Regions from separate parts of the Homo sapiens genome. Here region 2 is linked to region 1. Evidence: promoter capture Hi-C in 16 types of primary human blood cells and fetal thymus (Javierre and others, 2016). All regions are on one chromosome and are shown on one strand. The core of a region is centred on a gene start or on the middle of the fragment in contact, and the rest is flanking DNA. Distances in the headings are between cores, read along the strand shown.

Region 1 (6,255 bases), core at 225-2,724:
GGCTGACAGTTTGTTTCAGGCTGACTCAACCCACCCGAACAATCTGTCTCAGCACACCGAAGTGTCTCATGCCAAAAGATCCTAAGAGGGCTGGGCAACTTGGAAGGGATGAGACACAGGCCCAGATGGTGCACATCTGGCCAAAAATTAGAAAGAGAAAGAAATCAGCCTCTCAAATCCACAGACAGGTGTTCGGGGCTTCCCAGGAGACCTGCTTATGAAGGGCAACGGGGATGGCTATGGACTGGTGGTTAGTGAAGGAACAACAAAGGTTTCTGAGACTTGCGCAGGTCAGCGGGAACCAAACAGGTGGCAAGAGTGGGCTGCTGTCCACCTTCCCTTGACAATGGCGTCATTTCGAAGACCTTTAAATTATTTAGATTGTTGTAACCAAGACATCTTTAATAATGCACCAAACAGCAGGCACCAGGTTGAAATCAATTAGACTCCACCGATAAATTATAAGGGAGAAATTTACAGGAGAATGGCTCTGGGGTAGGGACTGCAGGTACACATGCCTGCCAGAGACAATTATATCAGGAACCAAATAGTTATTGCTTTGTCATTTAAGCAGCAGAAAAGATGGCCAGGTGCTCCTAAATTAGAGCAATAACAAATAACTAAAATGAGGAGGCCTGTTCTGGGCAGGAAGGCTTCTGGGTGGCCAAGAGAAAAGACAATGGAGGTAGGAACAAATGTCATTTGGGGGATATCTAGGATCCGGATGCACCCTGCACTGGGGGCACCTCGCGCTTCTTCCAGGAGTTTGGGGCCAGTGGGGTAACAGGTGGTATCACAGGGGTTTGTCTCCCAGAGGATGACAATCTCCTGGAGGTGACTTCAAAGTTTCCCTTTCTAGGCAGGACGCGGTGGCTCATGCCTGTAATCCCAGCACTTTGGGAGGCCGAGGATCTCCTGAGTTCAGGAGCCTCAGACCAGCCTGGCCAACATGGTGAAACCGTGTCTCTACCAAAAATACAAAAAAATTAACTGGGCGTGGTGGCGCGCGCCTGGAGTCCCAGCTACTCGGGAGGCTGAGGCAGGAGAATCGCTTGAACCCGGGAGGTGGAGGCTTCAGTGAGCCGGGATTGCGCCACTGCACACACACCAGGCTGGGCGACAGAGTATGACTCCGTCTCAAAAAAAAAAAAAAAAAGCAAAGTTTCCCTTTCTAGTACAGGAAAAGCCCTAGGGAGTCCTGGCTGGATCTCAGGCCCCCGAGGACGCAGCCACGCCGCGTGCCACGCGTCCATTGGGAGCACGAAGAGACACCCGCGTGGTCACCCCGCCAGGGCTGCCTAGGCGCCGCGTCCCGCCCTAGGCCGCGCGGGGGCGCAAAGCGCAGGCGCACTCCCGCCGGGCGCGGACGGCTCCGGGCCGCCAGGGGCCGCTGTGGCGCAGCCGGGCTGGCCCGCGCTGTCCCTGACGCGGATCACTGGCCCCTCTTGAGCACGGCCTTGCCGGTTTGGCGGGGTGAAAGGTTGCGAAGATGGCGACGGCCTTGAGCGAGGAGGAGCTGGACAATGAAGACTATTACTCGTTGCTGAACGTGCGCAGGGAGGTGAGGCCAGCGGCTGGACGCTCTGGGGGCTGAGGCCGAGCCCGGTCGTTCGGGAGGGCCGGGCTGGCGGTGGCCGCCCCACCCCCGCCACGGGAGGCTCGGGTCCGTCGGGGAGGCCGCGTGACCCCGGCGACGTGCACGCCAGCCGCCCGATGGAGGCGTCCCCACCGCCCAGACCCTCCCGCCGGGGGTTCCGGGGCCAGCCTCCGCCCCAGCTCCTGAAGGCCAGTGCGCCGCGTGCACTGTGTCCGGGTAGGGCCAGAGGCCCCCGCACGCTCAAGAGGAAACGGGGGCCCCGAGGAGGCCACCGTAGTGGGGTTAGCAGTCCTCCGAGACCCCGTCTCGCGCTCAGCCCACATACTCGTCCTGGCTGAGGGGCTGTGTCATCGCCCGCCGCCAGCAGGATGGCGAACTGAGTCTCACCCACCAAGGTCAAGGCCACTAGGGAACGTCCTTAGGGCTTTTTCCGGTTCCCGAGTCTTTCGTGGGGACGCTCTGCCTCTGAAGTGGGTCCAGCCTCAGAGGCATGCGTCTCATGCCCTCTTTCATTCCCCTGGACCCGATGTCCAGAAATTGCAGGCAGAGCCTCCGGGACACAGACCCTCGGCTCGGAGGCTGCAGATTAGGAAGAAGCCCTAGGCCAGAAAAGTGGTGCCCTAACAACAGCTTCAACATTCACACCAAGCACTTGTACCCTGTCTCCTCAACGAATAAAAGATAACATGAGAGAGTCTCACATAGCCTGGCAGTAGTAGGGCCCCACTACACTCCTTTGTTCTTGACTAGTCTGGAGTTGAGATAGGTGTGAAGGGCGAGAAGGCTTCCAGGGTCAGGTCATGAGGTGGATCAGTTTCTTTAAGCCGATGGGTCCAGACTTTTCAGCCCTGCCAGAGAATTCCTAATTCCATCTCTCAGGTTTTCCAGTGGTAATGAAAGCTAGCCAAGTTTGGCTATGCTAACCAAAGCGGGTTCAGTGTGTGTTGTCAGTAAATATTAGTCTATGTGATGTTAATAATACAAACTTATCTTGTGTGGGACCACTATGCTGAATGAACTTTGTACTGTTATCTCATTTAATTCTGAGGATAGCTCTTAAGGTAAGTATTATGATAGCCCTTGATTTACACTTGAGGAAACCAAGGCATAGAGAGATTAAGTAGTGTGTCTAAAGTCACACTACTAGAAAGTGCAAGAGCCTGAACTCAACCCAGGCAGTCTGACTCTGGAGCCCAGCTTGTGAGCTCCATGCTAGTCTGTCACCTTACCTTACCAGTCCTTGGACTACAAAGCTGCTAGTTCTGGTACTGTATCCTTGAGTGTCACGCGCGTCCGTGTGAAGAGACCACCAAACAGGCTTTGTGTGAGCAATAAACCTTTTTAATCACCTGGGTGCGTATGGGCTGAGTCCGAAAAGAGAGTCAGCAAAGGGTGGTGGGATTATCATTAGTTCTTATAGGTTTGGGATAGGCGGTGGAGTTAGGAGCAATTTTTTGTGGGCAGGGGGTGGATCTCACAAAGTACATTCTCAAGAGTGGGGAGAATATTACAAAGTACCTTCTTAAGGGCGGAATATCACAAAGTACATTATCACAAGGGCGGGGAGCGTGTATTGTCATAAGGCCAATTGACCAGTTAGGGTGGGGCAGGAGTAAATCACCATGGTGGAATATCTTCAGTTAAGGCAGGACCTGGCTATTTTCACTTCTTTTGTGGATCTTCAGTTGCTTCAGGCCATCTGGATGTATATGTGCAGGTCATAGGGGATATGATGGCTTAGCTTGGGCTCAGAGGCTTGATACTGAGCACCTCATGAAAGAATCCCTCGAATGTATGGGCCACTGTACTATGAGAATGTCCAGTGAAATATCTTTGGGAATTGCAGATTTTGTTAGGCTGCCATAGGGCACCTGGGGGTTCTTGTTCTCATTAATCAACACTTCGGGCTAATCACTCCTTTTTTTCCTTTTTTTTTTAAATTATACTTTAAGTTCCAGGATACATGTGCAGAACGTGCAGGTTTGTTACATAGGTAAACATGAGCCATGGTGGTTTGCTGCACCCATCAACCCATCATCTAGGTTTTAATGGGCTAATCACTTATTTAGCCTTAAGTCTCTTTCCCTTTAAATGAAGATGTCTGGCTAGTTATACTTTTTTTCCAGTTTTTAGAAGTCAAGCAATAAATGAAGCCAGCCTTTCTGAAATCATTCGTACTTAGTCTGGGTTGTCAGTAATTGAGCAGCCATTTATCAGGCGTACTGAACCGTAGGCAGCTGCTGCAGATGATCAAGCAGGTCTAGAGTAATAGTTTTAGCCAGAGTCCTAGGTGAAGATTTTGTCAAAGGTATACCTTGAAACTGCTGAAACTGTAGAGCCTGTCATTGTTTTTGGACTTACGGATGGGAGCCAAAGAAATTTTGTTTGTTTGTTTAGAGACAGGGTCTCACTCTGTTGCCCAGGCTGAAGTGCAGAGGTGGATCATGGTGCACTGCAACCTTGACTTCCCCGGGCTCAGGTGCTCCCACCTCAGACTCGCTAGTAGCTAGGACCACAGGCACATGCCACCATACCCAGCTAATTTTTGTATCTTTTGTAGAGACAGGGTCTCTCTGTGTTGCCCAGGTTGGTCTCCTGAGCTCAAGCGATCCTCCCACCTCTGCCTCCCAAAGTGCCGGGATTACAGGCATGAACCACCATGCCTGGCCAGGCCTGTCACTGTTATTAGACTTAAGGATGAAGTATATATAAAAACATAGATATAAATATTTATATATAAATATATATATTTATATATATAATTAGACTTCACCCAGGCTGGAGTGCAGTGGTGCAGTCGTGGCTCATAGCAGCCTCGACCTTCCCCGGCTCAGGTGATCCTCCCACCTCAGCCACCAGAGTAGCTGGTATTACAGGCACACACCACCACAGCTGGCTGATTTTTGTAGTTTTTGTAGAGACAGGGTCTCACTGTGTTGCCCAGGCTGGTCTCAAACTCCTGAGCTCAAGCAGTCCACCCATCTCAGCCTCCCAAAGTGCTGGGATTACAGGCATGAGCCACTGCACCCAGCCAAAAAATATTTCTTAAATTTTTTTTTTTTTTTTACTTCTCCCAATGAGTGAAGGCACTTTCCATATTTATGGCTATATGGCTATAGGTTAAATCCATATGAAACATGCTCCCTTGCAGAAGTCACTTTCTGTTGTCTTCGTCAGCAAACTCGGTGTTAAATGTCATACTCAGGTGTGGTGTGCTGGTTTTCCATCCCGGGATTCCATTAGAAGCTCTGAAGGTGATGTCTGAACTTGATATTTGCTGGAATTTTTTGTGTGAAATCAAACGTGAAGTTGAAATAACGTGATTTAGTTGGAAAAAAGTCAGAGTAATCTTAAATCTTAATGTGTGGTTGGAAGAATATCTTAATACCTGTTTGTGTGTTTGCTGTCAGTTCTAGAGTAGTTGCCATTTAAGTATAGCTGTGAGAGGCAAGGCCCTGTTCCCACTGATACTTCAAAGTACCTTCAAAAGAGTGTCCTCAAAACTCTCAATGTTCAGTAGAGTTCAGAGAGTTTTCTTTAGAAATCTCAAATGGAAACAATTCTAGACAAAACCAGGGAATCCTACTTTAAAATTATAAGCATAGGCTGGGCGCGTGGCTCAAGCCTGTAATCCCAGCACTTTGGGAGGCCAAGACGGGCGGATCACGAGGTCAGGAGATGGAGACCATCCTGACTAACACGGTGAAACCCCGTCTGTACTAAAAATACAAAAAATTAGCCGGGCGTGGTGGCGGGCGCCTGTAGGAGGCTGAGGCAGGAGAATGGTGTGAACCCAGGAGGCGGAGCTTGCAGTGAGCCGAGATTGCGCCACTGCACTCCAGCCTGGGTGACAGAGCAAGACTCTGTCTCAAAAAAAAAAAAATTATAAGCATAATAGAGGTATATAATTGGATTAATATAGAAATGTCAACAATCAGCTGAAGAATCTCCCTCTCCAGGATTTAAACTTTAAAATATCCCCTTAAATTTGTATTCTAGAGCAGGGGTCCTCAACCCCCTGGCCATGGACCAGTACTGGTCTGTGGCTTGTTAGGAATTGGGCCGCACAGCAGGAGGTGAGTGGTGGGCAAGCAAGCGGTTAGCGTCGGGCAAGCAAGCGGTTAGCATCGGGCAAGCAAGCATCACCGCCTGAGCTCTGCCTGTCAGATTGGTGGTGGCATTAGCTTCTCATAGGAGCATGAACCCTATTGGGAACTGCACATGCAAGGGATCTAGGTTAGGTCCTCTTTATGAGAATTTGACTAATGCCTGATGATCCCAGGTGGAACAGTTTCATTCCACTCCCACTAGTCTGTGGAAAAATTATCTTCCATGAAACCAGTCCGTGGTGCTAAAAGGTTGGAGACCCCATTGTTGCCGCCGTTGGAGAGAGTGAAGCAGGCAGCTGGAAAGGACCCCCCGTTCTCCTATGACAAGACACATGATCTTTAATGATTCTCCTTCTAGATTTCCTGTTTACAGAGCAGGGCCATCATCTGTCGTGCCTGCCTCACACTGAGAGGAGGGAGTACTTTATCACTCACTGGGCACACCAAAGCCAGACAGGTTTTCTGGTTTAGTGTTAGATGCATCATCTGGTTCCTAAAATCTCACTCCTCTGAGATTTCCAGGATGATTTTCCAAAATTTATTTGGAGA
Region 2 (6,043 bases), core at 9-2,508, 2.9 Mb after region 1:
CGAGACCAGCCTGGCCAACATGGCGAAAACCGGTTAATATAAAAATTATATTAACACGGTTAATATAAAAATTAACCGGCCACGGTGGCATGCACCTGTAGTTCCAGCGGGAGGCTGAGGCAGGAGAATTGCTTGAACCCAGGAGGCGGAGGTTGCAGTGAACCAAGATAGCATCACTGCACTCCAGCCTGGGTGACAGAGCGAGACTCCGTCTCAAGAAAAAAAAAAGAATTTTGGTTTTGGTTTACACCACTCAAAAGTGCAGGAATTCCAAAACAAGCCGGTCGGGGCACAGTAGAGCACAGACTCTGGCTCCTCCATCCGCCCGCACCCCACCCTGTGAAAGGAAAATAAATCTCAAAACCCCACAATCACTAAGTCAAAGGAAAAAGTCAAGCTGGGAACTGCTTCGGGCAAATCGGCCTCCCGTCTTATTCCTAAATAAGATAGTTACAAATACATATTTTTAAAGCTACACACCTCCCTCACAATTTGCCCACAAAGAAATTCTCTGTGGGCCTCAAGATCTTTACCCTAAAACAGTTCTGTTGAATTTCACCCTGGCAATGCAAATTGATAGCTTCCCTTCACAGGTGCGAGACAAAGGACTGAACTCAAAGCCATCCCTCTGCTCACCTAGACAAATGCATATCTGATCGCTTCCTTTGCTCTACTGTTTACGTAGAAATGAAGATTCAGTAAGCCAGACTAAAGCATAAGCGACTATTCCTCTACCCGCGTCTCACATGCATAATAAATTGTGCAGTCAGCGAAAGGCTGAACAAAGACTCAAAAGAATGCACCCTCCGGTCTCTTCTCTACCTGTGACCTGAAAGCCCTCTCCTGGAATTGTCCAGCCTTTCTGGGCTGAACCAAGGTACACTCGCACGTGTTGATTGATGTCTCACGTCTCCCCAAAATGTACAAAACCAAGCTGCATCCCAACTTCCCTGGGCACCATCGTCACGATCTCCTAGGGTTGTGACACTGGCGTGTCCTTAACCTTGGCAAAATAAACTTTTTACATTTCATTGAGTCCTGTCTCAGATATTTTTGGGTTCATAACCCCCACCCTCACCCCTACCCGCGGAGAGAGCGAGCCGCTCTCCAGCCCCTCCCCGGCTCTACGCAGGAGAGGCCACTCTCCTCTATGGCACGCGCGGCGGCACTCTAGCAGCCAGGTGGCTTCTCTATGGGCTTTTCCGGCACAGGTCGGAAGTGGCGCGCGCTGCCCCGGAAGCACCCTGGTGGGTGGGTGCCTGCCAGCAGCTGAGGCGCCATGGCGGCGGCAGCGGTGTCAGAGTCTTGGCCGGAGCTGGAGCTGGCTGAGCGCGAGCGGCGGCGGGAGCTGCTGCTGACGGGGCCCGGGCTGGAGGAGCGAGTGCGGGCGGCGGGTGGGCAGCTGCCGCCGCGGCTTTTCACCCTGCCGCTGCTGCACTACTTGGAAGTGAGCGGCTGCGGGAGCTTGCGCGCGCCGGGGCCTGGCCTGGCGCAGGGCCTGCCGCAGCTGCACAGCCTCGTGCTGCGGCGCAACGCGCTGGGGCCCGGCCTGAGCCCCGAGCTCGGGCCGCTGCCTGCCCTTCGGGTGCTCGACCTGTCGGGCAACGCGCTGGAGGCGCTGCCGCCGGGCCAAGGCCTGGGCCCCGCCGAGCCGCCGGGCCTTCCGCAGCTGCAGAGCCTCAACCTCAGCGGCAACCGGCTGCGCGAGCTGCCAGCCGACCTGGCGCGCTGCGCCCCGCGCCTGCAGAGCCTCAACCTCACCGGCAATTGCCTAGACTCCTTTCCCGCCGAGCTCTTTCGCCCCGGCGCGCTGCCCCTGCTCAGTGAACTGGCGGCTGCTGACAACTGCCTCCGAGAACTCAGCCCCGACATCGCCCACCTGGCCTCGCTCAAGGTCAGCGGGGGCTGCCCGGGCGGGGCGGGATGGGGCCTTGGAGTAGCCCTGGAGAAGGAACCCCTCTCGGGGCCGAGCAGTTCCTAGTGACGCCCCCTGGGGCACTGGGCCCAGGGAATTCCTACAAGGCTGAAAGGAGCCAGCTGCGGGGGGCATCACCCCTGGGAAGCAGATGCCGCCTTCCAACTCCCCCTTCTCCTGGCCACACCAACATACTAGGTGGCCTCTGAACTCCCCCGCATTCTGTTAACTGGACTTTTACACGTGGTACGCTATTTTGTAATTGTTAGCAAACCTGGCTTCTCCTGTAGATCGAGCGTAGAGACCTGTCTTTTTTGTATCTAGTACTTGTGAAGTGACTTGAGAGTGAGTCTGGTGGTGAAGGGGGCACCCTGGATTTTGCATAATGCCACATGCTGTGATCTTGAAGATTATATTTCACTTCATCCTAATAGCAGCTTTCCAAGGTAGGGGTGGTTATTCCTGTTTTACAGAAAGCCAAAGGGCCTGCCCAAAGTAAGCAGCAGGTAACTTGGGTTTTTCTCCAGACTATATTGTCCAGCGTCTGTTTACTAATTAATCTTGGATCCCCAGGCCCCGCGATAATGCTTGGCCTATAACAGGTGCCCATTGAATCTGTTGCCTAAAAGAAAGTAGGGAAGCCACATGGCAGAACCACGACCTAAACCCAGCCAGATGTTCTCTCCATCTTCTCTTTTGGTTTCATCCTTAAGGCAGTCCTGCATTTCTTCCCCCATTTTTCGTCTTTGAATTTATGCAGACATTTCTTTTTTTTTTTTTTTTTTTTGAGATGTAGTCTGGTCCTGTCACCCAGGCTGGAGTGCAGTGGCGCGATCTCGGCTCACTTCAACCTCCGCCTCCCGGGTTCAAGCGGTTCTTCTGCCTCAGCCTCCTGAGTAGCTGGGCTTACAGGCGCACACCACCACGCCCGGCTAACTTTTGTGTTTTTAGTAGAGACGGGTTTCACTGTGTTGGTCAGGCTGGTCTCGAACTCCTGACCTCATGTGATCCGCCTGTCTCGGCCTTCCAAAGTGCTAGGATTACAGGTGTGAGCCACCGCGCCTGGCCTATGTGGACATTTCTTAATAAAATACGTATACACTTTAGCAGCTTATCTATTTATTTGCTGTAGCAATTCCTCAAGACATTGCAACTCATTTTACAAGTAACATATCTATATAAGGATATATAGACAAACCCTGGCCGGGCGCGGTGGCTCACACCTGTAATCCCAGCACTTTGGGAAGCTGAGGCGGGCAGATCGCTTGAGGTCACACCACCAGCCTGGCCAACATGGTGAAACCCCATCTCTACAAAAATACAAAAATTAGCTGGGCCTGGTGGCGCGTGCCTGTAGTCCCAGCTACTCGGGAGGCTGAGGTGGGAGGATCACTTGAGCCCAGGAAGTGGAGGTTGCAGTGAGCTGTGATACCAGCCTGAACAGAGCGAGACCCTGTGGCAAAAAAAACAAACCCACTGTAGAGTGACACATGGTTACTGATGTAACTGCCCAATGGGTTCATTTTATCCACTACCCGGATAGAGCTGATTTATCAGGGCAGGAGGGTTGCAATAGAGAAAGTTTTACACATGTAGAGCCAGCTAAAGTGGAGACTGGAGTTTTACTGTTATTATTATTGTTGTTTGAGATGGAGTCTCGCTCTGTCTCCCAGGCTGGTGTGCAGTGGTGCAACCTTGGCTCACTGCAAGCTCCGCCTCCCGGGTTCACGCCATTCTCCTGCCTCAGCCTCCCGAGTAGCTGGGACTACAAGCGCCCGCCACAACACCCAGCTAATTTTTCGTATTTTTAGTAGAGATGGAGTTTCACTGTGTTAGCCAGGATGGTCTCGATCTCCTGACCTCATGATCTGCCTGTCTTGGCCTCCAAGGTGCTGAGATTACAGGCATGAGCCACCGCGCCCGGCCGAGTTTTATTACTAAATCAGCTTCCCCAAAAATTTGGAGGCGGGGTTTTTCAAGGATAGTTTGGGGAAAGGGGAGGGTGGCTAGGCAACGGGTGCTTGCTGCTGATTGGTTGAGGTGCAATCATAGGGGTGTGGGAAACGGTCCTGCTTACTGAGTCACTTCTGGCTGGGGCTGCGGGGAGCTCTTTTTGGTTTCAGGTAGAGCCATTGATCAGACATGCAAAAACCCTGAAAAGACACAGCTCAGAAGGCCGGTCTTAGGTTCCACAGTGCTGCTAGTGCTGTTATCTGCAGGAGTCACTGGGGAAGTCGCATATCTTGTGACCTCCAGAAGAATAGCTGGCAGTTGTTTATGTCTACCCCTTAGCAGAATTCAGGTTCCTCCATCCTCCTATCCTCGTGGACCCTCATTAGCTTTACAAAGGCAGTTGAGTTTTACGGAAGGAGTATTATCATTTAAATTACAAATGTCTCCCAAAGTTAGCTTGGCCCAAGCCCAGGAATAATTAAAGGTAGTTTGAAGGGCCAGGCGCGGTGGCTCCTGCCTGTAATCCCAGCAGTTTGGGAGGCTGAGGCAGGCGGATCACCTGAGGTCGGGAGTTCTAAACCAGCCTGACCAACATGGAGAAACCCATCTCTAGCTGGGCATGGTGGCACATGCCTGTAATCCTAGCTACTCAGGAAGCCAAGGCAGGAGAATCGCTTAAACCCGGGAGGCGGAGGTTGCAATGAGCCAAGATGATACCATTGCACTCCAGCCTGGGCAACAAGAGCAAAACTCCATTTAAAAAAAAAAAAAGGTAGTTGGAAGGCCAAAGATGGGGATTGGTTAGATCAGATCTCTTTCACCACCATAATTTTCTCACTGTTACAGTTTTTGCAAAGGTGGTTTCATTGGCATTTCCTGGAAGAGGCGAGTTCACTGGCATTTTCCTTGGTCCTCAGGGCTGTAGGCATCCCTCTAGGACTAAGGTGTGATGTTGGATACAGCATGGTCTACTCCCACCTTCCCACCTGACAGATACTTTTGGTTTTCCAGAGTGTTGATGTACTAGGCATGTATCTTAACATTGTGCCTTACATCATGTAAGTGTCCAGTCAGTTGCAATATTTCTCTTCAAATTCATAGATGTCTTTCAGTATTCAAGTTCTTAAAAGTGTTGTGGGCCAGGCCCACGCTTGTTATCCCAGCACTTTAGGAGGCCAAGGCGGGCGAATCACGAGGTCAAGAGATCGAGACCATCCTGGCCAACATGGTGAAACCCCGTTTCTACTAAAAATACAAAAATTAGCTGGGTGTGGTGGTGCATGCCTGTAGTCCCAGCTACTCGGGAGGCCGAGGCAGGAGAATCGCTTGAACCCGGGAGGCAGAGGTTGCAGTGAACCGAGATTGCACCACTGCACTCCAGCCTGGGTGAGAAAGTGAGACTGCGTCTCAAAAAAAAAAAAAAGTGTGCGTCCAGCTCTCTGTAGCACCTGCCTGGTAAAGCATTCCTCTTTATGGTGCCCAAAACAATGTCATTCAAGTCAAAGAGTGTGTCTTGTTTTCTAAATCCCAAAAGAGGTGGCCAAGTTCCCTTTCCCCTGGGCCATTCTGTTCGTAAATTTTAGGCGTCCAGTGGCTCTCTATCAGGAGACCTGTTTCTTGGAGGGTCATGCAAGAGCTATTGGAATCCCTTGTTGCACTCAGATGTCCTTTTGGGTACCTTTCTGAGGAATGGCTACCAGAACTATGCCCAGCAATGTAGCTACGCACATTGGAATTTCGCACACAAAGGCAAATGCATTTGATGTCCTTCCTGGTGCTGTGGGGAGATGGGGAGTGTAGAAAACCAGAAAACTGAGCTCAGAAACAGAAGGCAGGCTGGGCACAGTGGTTCATGCCTGGCATCCCAGCCCTTCAGGAGGCTGAGGCGGGCGGATCACTTGAGCCCAGGAGTTTGAGACCAGCCTGGGCAACATGGTGAAAACCTGTCTCTATAAAAAATACAAAAATTAGCTGGGTGTGGTGGTGTGCACCTGTAGTCCCAGCTACTCAGGAGGCTGAGGTGGGGTGAACGCTTAAACCTGGGAGGTTGAGGCTGCAGTGAGCCATGATCACACCACTGCACTCCAGCCTGGGCAACAGAGCTAGACCCTGTCTTAAAGAAAGGAGAGAGAGGCCGGGTGCGGTGGCTCATGCCTATTATCCCAGCACTTTGGG

Evidence for each region. The method cuts DNA at HindIII sites, captures the fragments that hold promoters and counts their contacts. A CHiCAGO score of 5 or more calls a contact.
Region 2: the fragment with the promoter of LRRC47 here is called in contact with the fragment with the promoter of DNAJC11 in region 1 in 1 of 17 cell types (neutrophils); the score reaches 5.7 in neutrophils.

What each region holds. Positions count from the first base shown.
Region 1 is chr1:6,697,035-6,703,289 of GRCh38, reverse strand. It overlaps DNAJC11 (DnaJ heat shock protein family (Hsp40) member C11), which reads left to right and starts at 1,474. Exons shown (of 16, transcript NM_018198.4): 1 at 1,474-1,561. The coding sequence starts at 1,490. RefSeq lists a silencer at 1,238-1,687. The HindIII fragment of the contact is 16,969 bases long and covers 1-6,255 here.
Region 2 is chr1:3,791,713-3,797,755 of GRCh38, reverse strand. LRRC47 (leucine rich repeat containing 47) reads left to right here and starts at 1,258. Exons shown (of 7, transcript NM_020710.3): 1 at 1,258-1,894. The coding sequence starts at 1,280. RefSeq lists enhancers at 1,077-1,371, 3,712-4,390 and a silencer at 1,487-1,696. The HindIII fragment of the contact is 14,897 bases long and covers 1-6,043 here.